Linked DNA regions of Homo sapiens: region 1 is linked to region 2. The links are contacts of gene promoters, found by promoter capture Hi-C in blood cells and fetal thymus (Javierre and others, 2016). All regions are on one chromosome and are shown on one strand. The core of a region is centred on a gene start or on the middle of the fragment in contact, and the rest is flanking DNA. Distances in the headings are between cores, read along the strand shown.

Region 1 (5,745 bases), core at 1,938-4,437, 760 kb before region 2:
CCCAGCTAGCTTTACATTAAAGTCTCTAACGGAGGCCAGGAGCAGTGGCTCACACCTGTAATCCCAGCACTTTGAGAGGCCAAGATGGGTGGATAACTTGAGGGTCAGGTGTTTGAGACCAGCCTGACCAACATGGTAAAACCCCACTCCTGGTATCAATTTTCTGTGTTAGTTTGTTCTCACACTGCTATAAAGAACTACTTGAGACTGGGTAATTTATGCAGAAAATTAATTTAACTAACTCACAGTTCTGCAAACTTAATGGGAAGCATGACTGTGAGGCCTTGGGACACTGACAATCAGCAGAAGGTGAAGGGGAAGCAAGCACCTTCTTCACAATGGCGGCAGGAGAAAGATATAGTGAAGGGGGAACTGCCACACACTTTTATTTACTTTTTTTTTTAATTTATTTTTTTGAGACGGAGTTTCACTCTTCTTGTCCAGGCTAGAGTGCAATGACACAATCTCGGCTCACCGCAACCTCCGCCTCCCCGGTTCAAGCGATTCTCCTGTGTCAGCCTCCCAAGTAGCTGGGGTTACAGGCACATGCCACCACACCCAGCTAATTTTTGTATTTTTAGTAGAGACGGGGTTTCACCATGTTGGTCAGGCTGGTCTCGAACTCCTGACCTCAACCTCCCAAAGTGCTGGGATTACAGGCATGAGCCACTGCACTGGGCCTGAATTTACTTTAATTTAACAGAATGCAATTATGGGCAATGAGATAAAGAGGAAAATGTTCTGACATTTCTAGAAATTTGCTCACACCTATATGAAATCTTACTTTCTTTCATTATCTCACCTGATACTCATAAAAACTTTGTGCAAGGGATTTTGAGGAGTACTAATATTTAGGAGAGTTGGGCAGATGAACAACTAACAAAGGTAAACAATCGAAAGATCCAAGAAACCAAGTGACGTTATTGTTTCAAAGAGGCACCGCTCCACAATTTCAAAGGCTGCTGAGAAATTAAGAATAAGAAGGTGACCTGTGTGTGGCTGATAGATGAACAAAATGGAAGCTATTAGTGAGCTTGGTACCTTTCTTGAGCCGTATTGCTTATTCATATCTCATTCCATTTGTCTTGATATTCTGCCCAGAAGCTGGGACCATGCTTTGCACATGGCAAGTGCCCATTTTATGTCTGTTAGTAGCAGTTTTGCTGAGTGACTGAAACCAGAGACTTAGCAGAGATGGGTGTGCTCAGAGTTGGCCTCCACTCTATTCCCATTACAAAGCAAAATACAATACAAAGCAAAATACAAATACAATACCAATACAAAGCAAAATTCCCATTACAAAAACTCATCGCCAGACAGTTCTACTTACAGGAATTTGTCCTAAAGACAGTTCCCCCAAAGCCTGAGATGCTCTACTTACAAGGATATTAATTGCAATGCTATTTGTAATAGCAAAAGGCGGGAAACCACCTAAATTCCACCAACTAGAGATTGTGCAATAAGCTGCAAAGCATCCAGTCAGTGGGGCAATAGGATGCCCCTTTAAGAAAGAACAAGGCTGGCCGGGTGTGGCGGCTCACACCTGTAATCCCAGCACTCTGGGAGGCTGAGGCAGGCAGATCACCTGAGGTTCAGGGGTTCAAGATCAGCTGGGCCAACATGGTGAAACCCCATCTCTAATAAAAATACAAAGATTAGCCTGATGTTGTGATGCGTGTCTGTAATGCCAGCTACTTGGGAGGCTGAGACATGAGAATTACTTGAACCTGGGAGGTGGAGGGTGCAGTGAGCTGAGATCATACCACTGCATTCCAGCCTGAGGGTGACACAGTGAGAATCTGTCAAAAAAAAAAAAAAAGGACGGAAAGAAAGAGCGAACGAGGCTGATGCCTCTGCACTGAGATGGTCTCCACGATGTATTTGAAAAGTGGAGAGAAAAGAGGGCAGAACCTTACGGAGGGAAAAAAAGACAATTAAAAGAACAGCTGGGCCAGATGCAGTGGCTCATGCCCATAATCTCAGCACTTTGGGAGGCCAAGGCAGGTAGACATCTTGAGCTCAGAAGTTCAAGACCAGCCTGGGCAACATAGTAAGACCCCCTCCCCCCAACCATCTCAACAAAAAATACAAAAAATAGCCAAGCATAGTGGCATGCCTGTAGTCCCAACTGCTTGGAAGGCTGAGACAGGAGGATTGCTTGAGCCTGATTGAGGCTTCAGTGAGCCATGATCGCGCCACTGCACTCCAGCCTGGGCAACAGAGCGAGACCTTGTTTCAAAAAAAAAAAAAAAAAAAAAAAGGAATTATTTCAATGGATCTTGCAGTATTGACTGGATAGAAGGCTGGAAGCCAATAAAGCAAAGAGAATACAAATAGACTGACTGTTCTAGAAATTCTATGGGTAAAGGAAGAAGGGATTAATTAGAAAGCATACATTTATTTATGTATTTATTTATTGAGATGGAGTCTCGCTCTGTCACCCAGGCTGGAGGGCAGTGGCGCAATCTCGGCTCACTGAAACTTTTGCCTCCTAAGTTCAAGTGATTCTCCTGCCCCAGCCTCCTGAGTAGCTGGAATTACAGGCACCCACCACCCTGCCTAGCTAATTTTTGTATTTTTAGTAGAGATGGGGTTTCACCATGTTGGCCAGGCTGGTCTCCGGACCTCAAGTGATCCGCCTCCCAAAGTGCTAGAATTACAGGTATGAGCCACCGCGCCCGGCCAGAAAGCATACATTTTTTATTTAGATTGTATGCTTATCTGGCGTGGCTTGATACGGGGGTGCTGATGGGGATTGGGAGGTAGAGAAATACCCTCCCAATAATAATAGCCAAACGCAACATAGCACTTGTGATATTTTCTGTGAATTTTATTAGTATGAACTCATTTCAACCTCCTAACAACCCTGTGGGGCAGGTCCTTTTCATACCCCCATTTGTGAGGACACAGTGGCCTTTCTAATATCACACACCAGCAAGTGTCAAAGCTTCAAACCCAGGCAGCCTGGTCACAGAGAGTCACATAACTGCTCTGCAAACCTGCCTCCCTCTGCTTCAGAGGGGCTCAGATTCGGGGTTTACCTCTCACTAGCTGGGCAAGCTTAGGCACTGGCCTTCTCAGAGCCTTGGTTTTCTCGCCGCAGAATGAGGGTAACTGCAGAGTTGTTGAGAAGCATTTGAAGCACCTGATTCTTGGTGCTCAATACAGGGAACGTGTGATAGTTACTGCCGACTTAGAGCAGAGCTTAGGCAGGCACTGCACCAGGATTTGACTATTGATGCATCTCCAAGCTGAGCCTCGGTAGGCCTGTGGTCCCATGCTAGAGAGCAGCTGCCAGTGCCTCCATCTGCTGCAAAGCTTGGCTGTGTGTGGATGGGTGGGACAAGTCACTCCAGAAGCTTCTCCCCTTAAGACATCCTGACATTAAGGGATCTTCTTCCTTTGCTCCTCTTTCTGTCCTCCCTGCCCCCCTTCCTCCCTCCCTTTCTTCCTTAAATGCCCAAAGTCAGTTGATACCTTTTCTTAAGTAACTCAATAAGCAATACAGGCAGTTTGCTCATGGTTGGCAGTGGGCAGGATTAAGGGAGGATTAGGGCCCTTTGTCAATGTCTCATCTCCTGTCTGCAGAGACAAGACCTGAAGGATTGCTAAAGAATGCCCTTGGTAACAACTGTTTCTCCAGGACCTTGTTTGGCTTCCCCCTGGCTGGGTGGAACCCGCTGTGTGCAGCCTTCGCAGGGAGGTGGGCCGAAGGCTGCCAACGTTGGAGCAGGTGAGCTATGGCATTTGCATTGGGCTGGGTCTCCATTCTTGGGCCAAATCAACTCACCTCTTGGGCGAGTTGCTTCAGACTTCAGAAACAAGCCACATCATGCCGAGAGGCTTTCCCCCCAGTTCCAGGGCCCAAGGGTGCAGGCACATAGCCAGCCCAGCCTTCTCTTCCCTGTGTGTTCCCTTCTCCCCTGGGTTTCTCCTCCCTTGTGAAGAAACAGCACACCTGCTTTTACACAAGGCCAGTCCTCCACGGGCGCCCTCATCCCACCCCTTTTGACCTTCTCAAGGACTACAAGTCTCTAATGATCCTCTCCCTCTCCTGACTCATCCATCTCTCCCTCTCCCTTGTGACTCAGCAGTGTACAGACCTGCTTCTAGATTAAAACAAAAACAGAAACCCCTCCGACCACCCCCTCCACCTTTTTTCCTGCTTTTCCTCAGAGACAAACTTCTCAGCACCCCCTGCCTCCTTTCCTCAATTCCCGTCCATTCTCCAGCCCACTTCCAGCTGGCTTTGGCACCCACTGTCCCTCCTCTCAGATTCACTCTTGTCAAGGTCACCAGGAATACCCGGTGCACAGTACAACAGGCACTTCCATGTCCTCGCGGGATGGGTCTTCCCAGCTGCACTTGACGCAGCTGACCCAGGGTGCTCCCCTGCTTCCCCTCCTGGGGCACGCTCATGGCTTTCCCGCCTCCTCCCTCTGACCCTCCTGCCTCCTCCCTCTGATCCTCCTGCCTCCTTCCTCGGACCCAGGGCGCTCTCCTCCCTCCTCTCCTGGAACACGCTCATGGCTTTCCCACCTCCTCCCTGGCCATCTCTTCTCAGTCTTCATTTCCAACTTTTCCTCTTTCTGTTCTCTGAATGTTGGCTTTCTGCATGGCTAAGCCCTGGGTCCCCCTCTAGCTAGACTCTCATGGGATGGTCTCATCCATGGCCAAGGTTTTTAACATAATCTAGAAGCTGAGACTCCCATATTGCATCTCTGGTCTTGCTGTCAACTCACATGTCCGTGGCCTGCTGGATACCCCTGTTCTGTCTCTTGGGCATTCCACACTTAGTGTTTCCTAAATCAGACTGTCCAGGGCCTTCCACATTGGTTTGCTCCCAGTCTCCCTTGGAGCCGGCACTGGTGCCACCCTTCCACCTGGTGCCTGGCTGCCAAGCTTGATTCCCTCCTCCTCCTCCCTAAACCCTCCCCTCCTCAGACCTCACTTTTTCCATCCTCACATTGCCACCCTAGGCCAGGCCACCATCAGCTCCTGCCTGGACACTGTGACAGCCTCCTAAGTGATCGACAGCCCCCATTTTTCACGCTGCTGCCATTGAGATCTTTCTAGAATAAAAATCAAATCAAGCCAGTCCCTTGCTTAAAACCATTTCACGCTCCCTATTGCTCTTCAGGTGAAGCTAACCTCCTTAACTTGGTTTACACAGCCCTTCCCAGCCAGCCCCTCCCTGCCTCTCCCACCTCCAGTGCCACCCCCAGACCTCAAGTGATCCACCCACCTCAGCCTCTCAAAGTGCTGGGTGGTGGCTCACACCTGGCGTCGTCCTCTTCCTCCCTTCCTCTTCCCCTGCCCCTTCCCCTTGCCCTCCTCCTCCTCCTACTCCTCCTTCTTCCTCCTCCTTCTTCTATGAGTGGTCAGTTATTCCAATGATAGATTACAGAATTGGCTTCTGCCTTTCAAAAATTAAATCATAACCCATCTCCTGAAGTTTGAACACAGCCTTGCCTAATTTTGTTTCATTTATGTTATTGTTATCACTACAGTTATTTGGGGTGGCCTGAGGACACGGCTGGAGCTGGAGTGTGGCTGTGACCTCCTCTTGACATCTTTCTGCACCACTATTAATGGTATCCCAAGTGCTGGGCACAGAGGAGGAGATAGATCAATATTTGATGAATAAATGGCTGGGCGTGGTGGCTCACGCCTGTAATCCCAGAACTTTGGGAGGCCTAGGCAGGTGAATCACCTGAGGTCAGGAGTTCAAGACCAGCCTGGCCA
Region 2 (5,118 bases), core at 1,247-3,746:
CTAAGACCACCACCAAAGCCCCCAGAGAACGATGACACACTCCAAGCCAGACCCCCACAGATGCCTCATATCCAAGTGGTTAAGAGCATGAATTTGGAGTCAAGGTTTAACTCTCAGCTCTGTCACTTACTGGAGGTCCAATCTTACACAAAAGGGTTAATTTCTCCAAACCTCAGTTTCTTCATATGTGAATTGGGTGTACTATTTTTCACCTCTTAAAGTCACTGATTTATTTTCAGTGCATTTCTTACCCTGCCAACTTAATTATGTAAGAGTTCATCTGGCCAGGTGCAGTGGCTCACGCCCATAATCCCAGCACTTTGGGAGGGTGAGGAGGATGGATCACCTGAGGTCAGGAGTTCGAGACCAGCCTGGCCAACATGGTGAAACCCCATCTCTACTAAAAAATACAAAAACCTAGCCGGGTGCGATGGCACTTGCCTGTAATCCCAGCTACTCAGGAGGCTGAGGCAGGAGAATTACTTGAACCCAGGAGGCGGAGATTGCAGTGAGCCGAGATTGTGCCACTGCACTCCAGCCTGGGAAACAAGAGCGAAACTCCATCTCAAAAAAAAAAAAAAAAGTTCACCTGATTGCCTTTAGTTCTCCCCTCCTTTTAGGCTCCGAGCTCCCTAAGAGGAAGGGGTTTACCTGCCTTGTTCACAGCTGTGTCCTCGGTAATAAACCTTGCCCGGTGCAAGGTAGGCAGTGAGGAAGTATTTGTGATAACAGCAATGTAAAGCCATCAACACAGTGCTTGGTACATGCAGAACAGCCATCAACACAGGCAACCATCCCTGTGAACAGAGGGAGTGCATTATTTATGATGGGAAACTAGTTTTAGTTGGAAAATTATCAAATTACCAGGAACGGAAAGAACAAAACAGTTCTCCCAAGTAGCTCTTCTGGGGCCAAGCCCCAGCACCCCACCCATGCAGGACCAGGCCCCCAAAGGCCTTGGAACCACCTTGTTCCAGGGTCTCGCTCCACTGTCCTCTCCTCCTTCCCAAAGTCAGGACTCCTTTCCTTGGGCTTCAGAATTCCTATCTTCTGCTCTAGAAGGCTTGGAGCAAGTGGGGGAAAGGCACCACTCACCAAGTCTGTCAGGGGATGACATGGTATAGAGGGAGAGGAGCTACATAAAATACAAGATGCCAGTTAAGTTTGAATTTCACATAAACAATGAAATAACATTCCTTTCTCTGCCATCGTGGTGTGTGCTTGACTCCACTTCTCGCCATGTCTTTCCCACAAGACTTTTGGGATTAAGCAATTCCTGGCCAAGAAACAAAAGCAAAATCGTCCCCAGTGGATTCGGATGAAAACTGATAATAAAATCAGGTACAACTCCAAAAGGAGACATTGAAGAAGAACCGAGCTGGGCCTATAAGGAATTGCACATGAGAGGGCACACATATTTATGCTGTCTGAAGGTCACAGTCATGTTACCACATCAAGCTGAAAATGTCACCGCTCTCTGGAGAGTTGTACATGTTTTATTGAGAATATATTTTTTCTCTCTGAATCTGTGATGAATGCGTTGGTTGGCTGGGTTCAGTAATAAATATGTGAGACCTTTCACTTAAAAAAAAAAAGAACTATTTTTTTTTTTTTGAGAAGGGATCGCCCTGTGTTGCCCAGCCTGGAGTACAGTGGCTATTCACAGGCACAATCCTAGCGCACAGCAGCCTTCAACTCCTGGAGCCTCTAAATCCATCCTCCTGCCTCAGCCTCCCTAGTAGCTGGGACTACGGGTGAGTACCACTGTGCAAGGCTACAAAATAACTTTTTAGTAAAAGTATATCCCAAACTTTATACGAGACGTAGTTACTCTAAAAAAAAAAAAGGATTTGCTGTTTATCTGAAATTCTAATTTAACTGGTTGTCCTGGATTTTCTTTGCCAAATTGGTCTGCCCTACGGAGTGCGAGGGCTGGGATTTTAACCCAGGCCTGCCTGCTCTGAGCTGACCTTTCCTGGCACCTGCAAAATTAGGATGACACGTTAGGAACTTCCTGGGGTTCTTAAGGGAATTAGAAGAGGGACCTGAGTGCAAAGGGCTTTGGAGGCATTCAACTGCTATGAAACGTTAGTAAGGACAGGGATTGCGTTCACCTCAATCACAGCTGAACCCATTGCCGAGAACTGTTATCCCACACAGCTGGATCTTCATCATTATGTGTTTTAATGAAAAATCGCTGATATTGCTGTCCCTAAATAGCCAACCCCCAAAATAATTAAATCACCTCAAGGGACTCTAGGTCCAATATCCGCAGCACGCCACACAAACATCTCTCAGCTCAGCCACGCAGGGCCGATGCCTGCGCGACCCACACTCAGGGAGGCGCCCGCCTCAGGGCCTCACAGGTGGGACCGCGCCTGAGAGCCCTGCGCTTGCGCACTCCACGCCGTGCTCTACGCATACGCCTGTCCAGCCCCGCCTCTGGGTGTGTGGCGTGGGCACGCCGGCCGCTCAGAAAGCGCGGGAAAGGCACGCAGCCACGCCCCAAGGGCGCAGCCTAGGACAGGGGCTTCTGGAGCTTCTGGCAGCCGTCTGCCCTCATGGCCTTTGCACCTATGGGGCCCGAGGCCTCGTTCTTCGACGTTTTGGACCGACACAGGGAGTCCCTGCTGGCTGCCCTGAGGAGAGGTGGCAGGGAGCCCCCAACTGGGGGAAGCCGCCTGGCCTCCAGGTACAGGAGCTGGTGCCGAGGCGCGACGCAGCCACTCTGTAGAAAAGTCGGGCGCTCTTCCTGGCCCCGGGCTGCCTCCTAGTGTTGAGGCTGAGGAGGCACCCCTTGGCGGGCCAGCCAGGAACCCCCAAAAAGATCCTTCCTGAGTACCCGTGACCTGCTTTGAACCCTTATTTTGAACTCAAAAAAGAAAGCCAGGTGGCAGCCCCCCTTCTGTGGCTTCTAGGATGTTCCCCTTCTAGAACGTTCCAGAGGCTCCCTGCAGCTGGGTTGGAAGGTTTCCTAAGATCCTTATAGGTTGGGGAGTTTGGGGTACAGTTAGCTTTGTATTTTTTAAACGTTTTTTGGGATAAAATTTTTGGTTAAACTTTAAGGGTTTTTTTTGGTTTTTATTTTTTGGTTTTTTTTTAGAAAGAAAATGAGTGTTGTATGTCTTCTCTCAGTAAGCGAATGGTTTTCTCAGAATTAACAAGGACATCAACACATTTTAAGTGGTTTATAATAAGACAACATGTTTAATTGTTTTGCAAGTGGAGAGAATGTACATATTTTAAATGATTTATTTAAAATCAATTACAGGAACCCTCCAGCTATCCATGTTAGAATTAACCACAGAAAACATGACTACGTTATTGACCATTTTCACTTAAAAATACTTTATTTTGTTTCCTCGACTTGCTTTCTTGGTTGAGCAAAGTTTTTCAGCCTTTTATTTTTAAGCCCAAACCAACCACCAAAAAATCTGAAAAACCTACAAACAAACCAATTTTTACAAAAGAATTTATTTTGAGGGAGAACTTGGGAGAGTGAGGGAAAAGGAGAGTGGCAAGTCCCTTGTTAATATCGCAGATGTAGACGAATCTGATTGTATCTTAAAGTTGGTTACAGTATTATCCTGCAACACTTTTTTTCTCCAAACTAGGAAAAATGAGTATTTGGGTCAGTTTTTACCTCCCAATATTAGAATAGATTAAATGTTTTAAAATTCATTTTCTGAAACACAAGTTTTCAGTAAAAATTCTGAAGTTCCTGTGGAAATTAAAACTCTCAACATTTTGCCCGTTTTCTAGAGTGCATTTGATTTCTCTTCCTAGACAATAAGCTCATGGTGTTTATAACAGAACAACATTTTTTGCAGCTGATGGCTTGTGAAATTAACAGTCAGCTGACAGAAAACTGGGCTTAGTCTTCGCATTTTGCTGTAGAGTGGCGTAATAGCTGCCAAGTCAACCGTTTGTTGCAGAACTCACAATTTATTCTTTCCAGGGTAGTGATTAAACGTTTTCCTTTTTGTATCGCTAAATTTCAAAAGAGCCGATTTTAAGGCATGAGATCAACTAGGGTAATGTGCGACCACAAAAGGTGTTTCTTTTGAAATTTTTGCATTGCATTTTTGGGAAAGAAATTCAAAGCCAATATTGTATCACTTTTTAATTAAAACATATATCAGTAGTATGTCAAGTCTAGTTTGTATTCAAGTTCAGCTAGATTACAGTAGGTTAATATGATAAAATTACAGTTGTAAATTTAGTCATTAATGTAAAAGGGAGACCTTCCATTGGTAATTGCTTGAGAAGTAAAATTACAAGCAAATGAAATTTATTTGTAAATACAGTTGTTTTAATGCAGTAGTAAAGGTTTAATGGGAGAGATAATTATTGACATGGATTACCTAGTCTTTTTTTTTGTCTTTTTTTAAAACCCCACCCCAATTACCTAGTCTTAAAAAAGAATAAAATAAAAAGTTACTTTAGTATTGATCTGGGAAAATCTTACATATTAAAAAGTCAAAATTTATGATTAAGATGGAATCATGCTCTGTTTATTGTTTCAGTTCTGAGGTTCTTGCATCTATAGAAAATATTATCCAAGACATAATCACAAGCTTGGCAAGAAATGAAGCACCTGCATTCACGATAGACAACAGATCAAGCTGGGAAAACATAAAGTGGGCATTTTGCATTTTTATTTTTTAAATGCAATATCTATGTCATTATTAAAATTATTTGAATTAGAGTTCTGGTCATATTTTTTTCATTTTATTGCCTTTACCTTGCCAAAAAAAAGGATTTAGGAAGTTTACGAAATACATACCATACAGAGAGGTTATGTAAACTAGAAGTAGGTGTGAAAGATGAGGCAAAGGAAAACAATGCTAGCACCAACAGAATGGAGCACCAGAAGAGGTTAGAATTCCAAATGCATGTGATAAAGTCTCATAATTTTGCTAAGAATAGGCACCATACTTGGAGCTAAGCTTTCTAGCAGTCAGAGGGGGAGATGTCATGGGTGCAATTCTCACATATGCCACAAAAGCAAACCACTTGCTCAGGGGAAATATAACCAATCCTGATACCAGACCAAAATAAAAGTATCCTGAACATAGAGCACATTTAAGGCTTTCTCCTGACAGATCTTCTGCCCCT

Evidence for each region. Contacts are between HindIII fragments. The CHiCAGO score rates a contact against its expected background, and 5 or more counts as called.
Region 1: a fragment that was not itself captured here is called in contact with the fragment with the promoter of SPO11 in region 2 in 1 of 17 cell types (endothelial precursors); the score reaches 5.2 in endothelial precursors.

Annotation. Positions count from the first base shown.
Region 1 is chr20:56,570,918-56,576,662 of GRCh38, forward strand. No RefSeq gene overlaps it. Among named protein-coding and RNA genes, the nearest start is that of LINC01716, 3.8 kb to the right of the region's middle. The HindIII fragment of the contact is 258 bases long and covers 3,059-3,316 here.
Region 2 is chr20:57,327,307-57,332,424 of GRCh38, forward strand. It overlaps SPO11 (SPO11 initiator of meiotic double strand breaks), which reads left to right and starts at 2,497. Exons shown (of 13, transcript NM_012444.3): 1 at 2,497-2,692; 2 at 4,527-4,640. The coding sequence starts at 2,562. LOC105372687 (a long non-coding RNA gene) reads right to left here and starts at 2,358. Exons shown (of 12, transcript XR_007067670.1): 1 at 2,115-2,358; 2 at 652-797. It also overlaps the pseudogene RPL39P39. RefSeq lists an enhancer at 1-35. The HindIII fragment of the contact is 5,253 bases long and covers 1-4,575 here.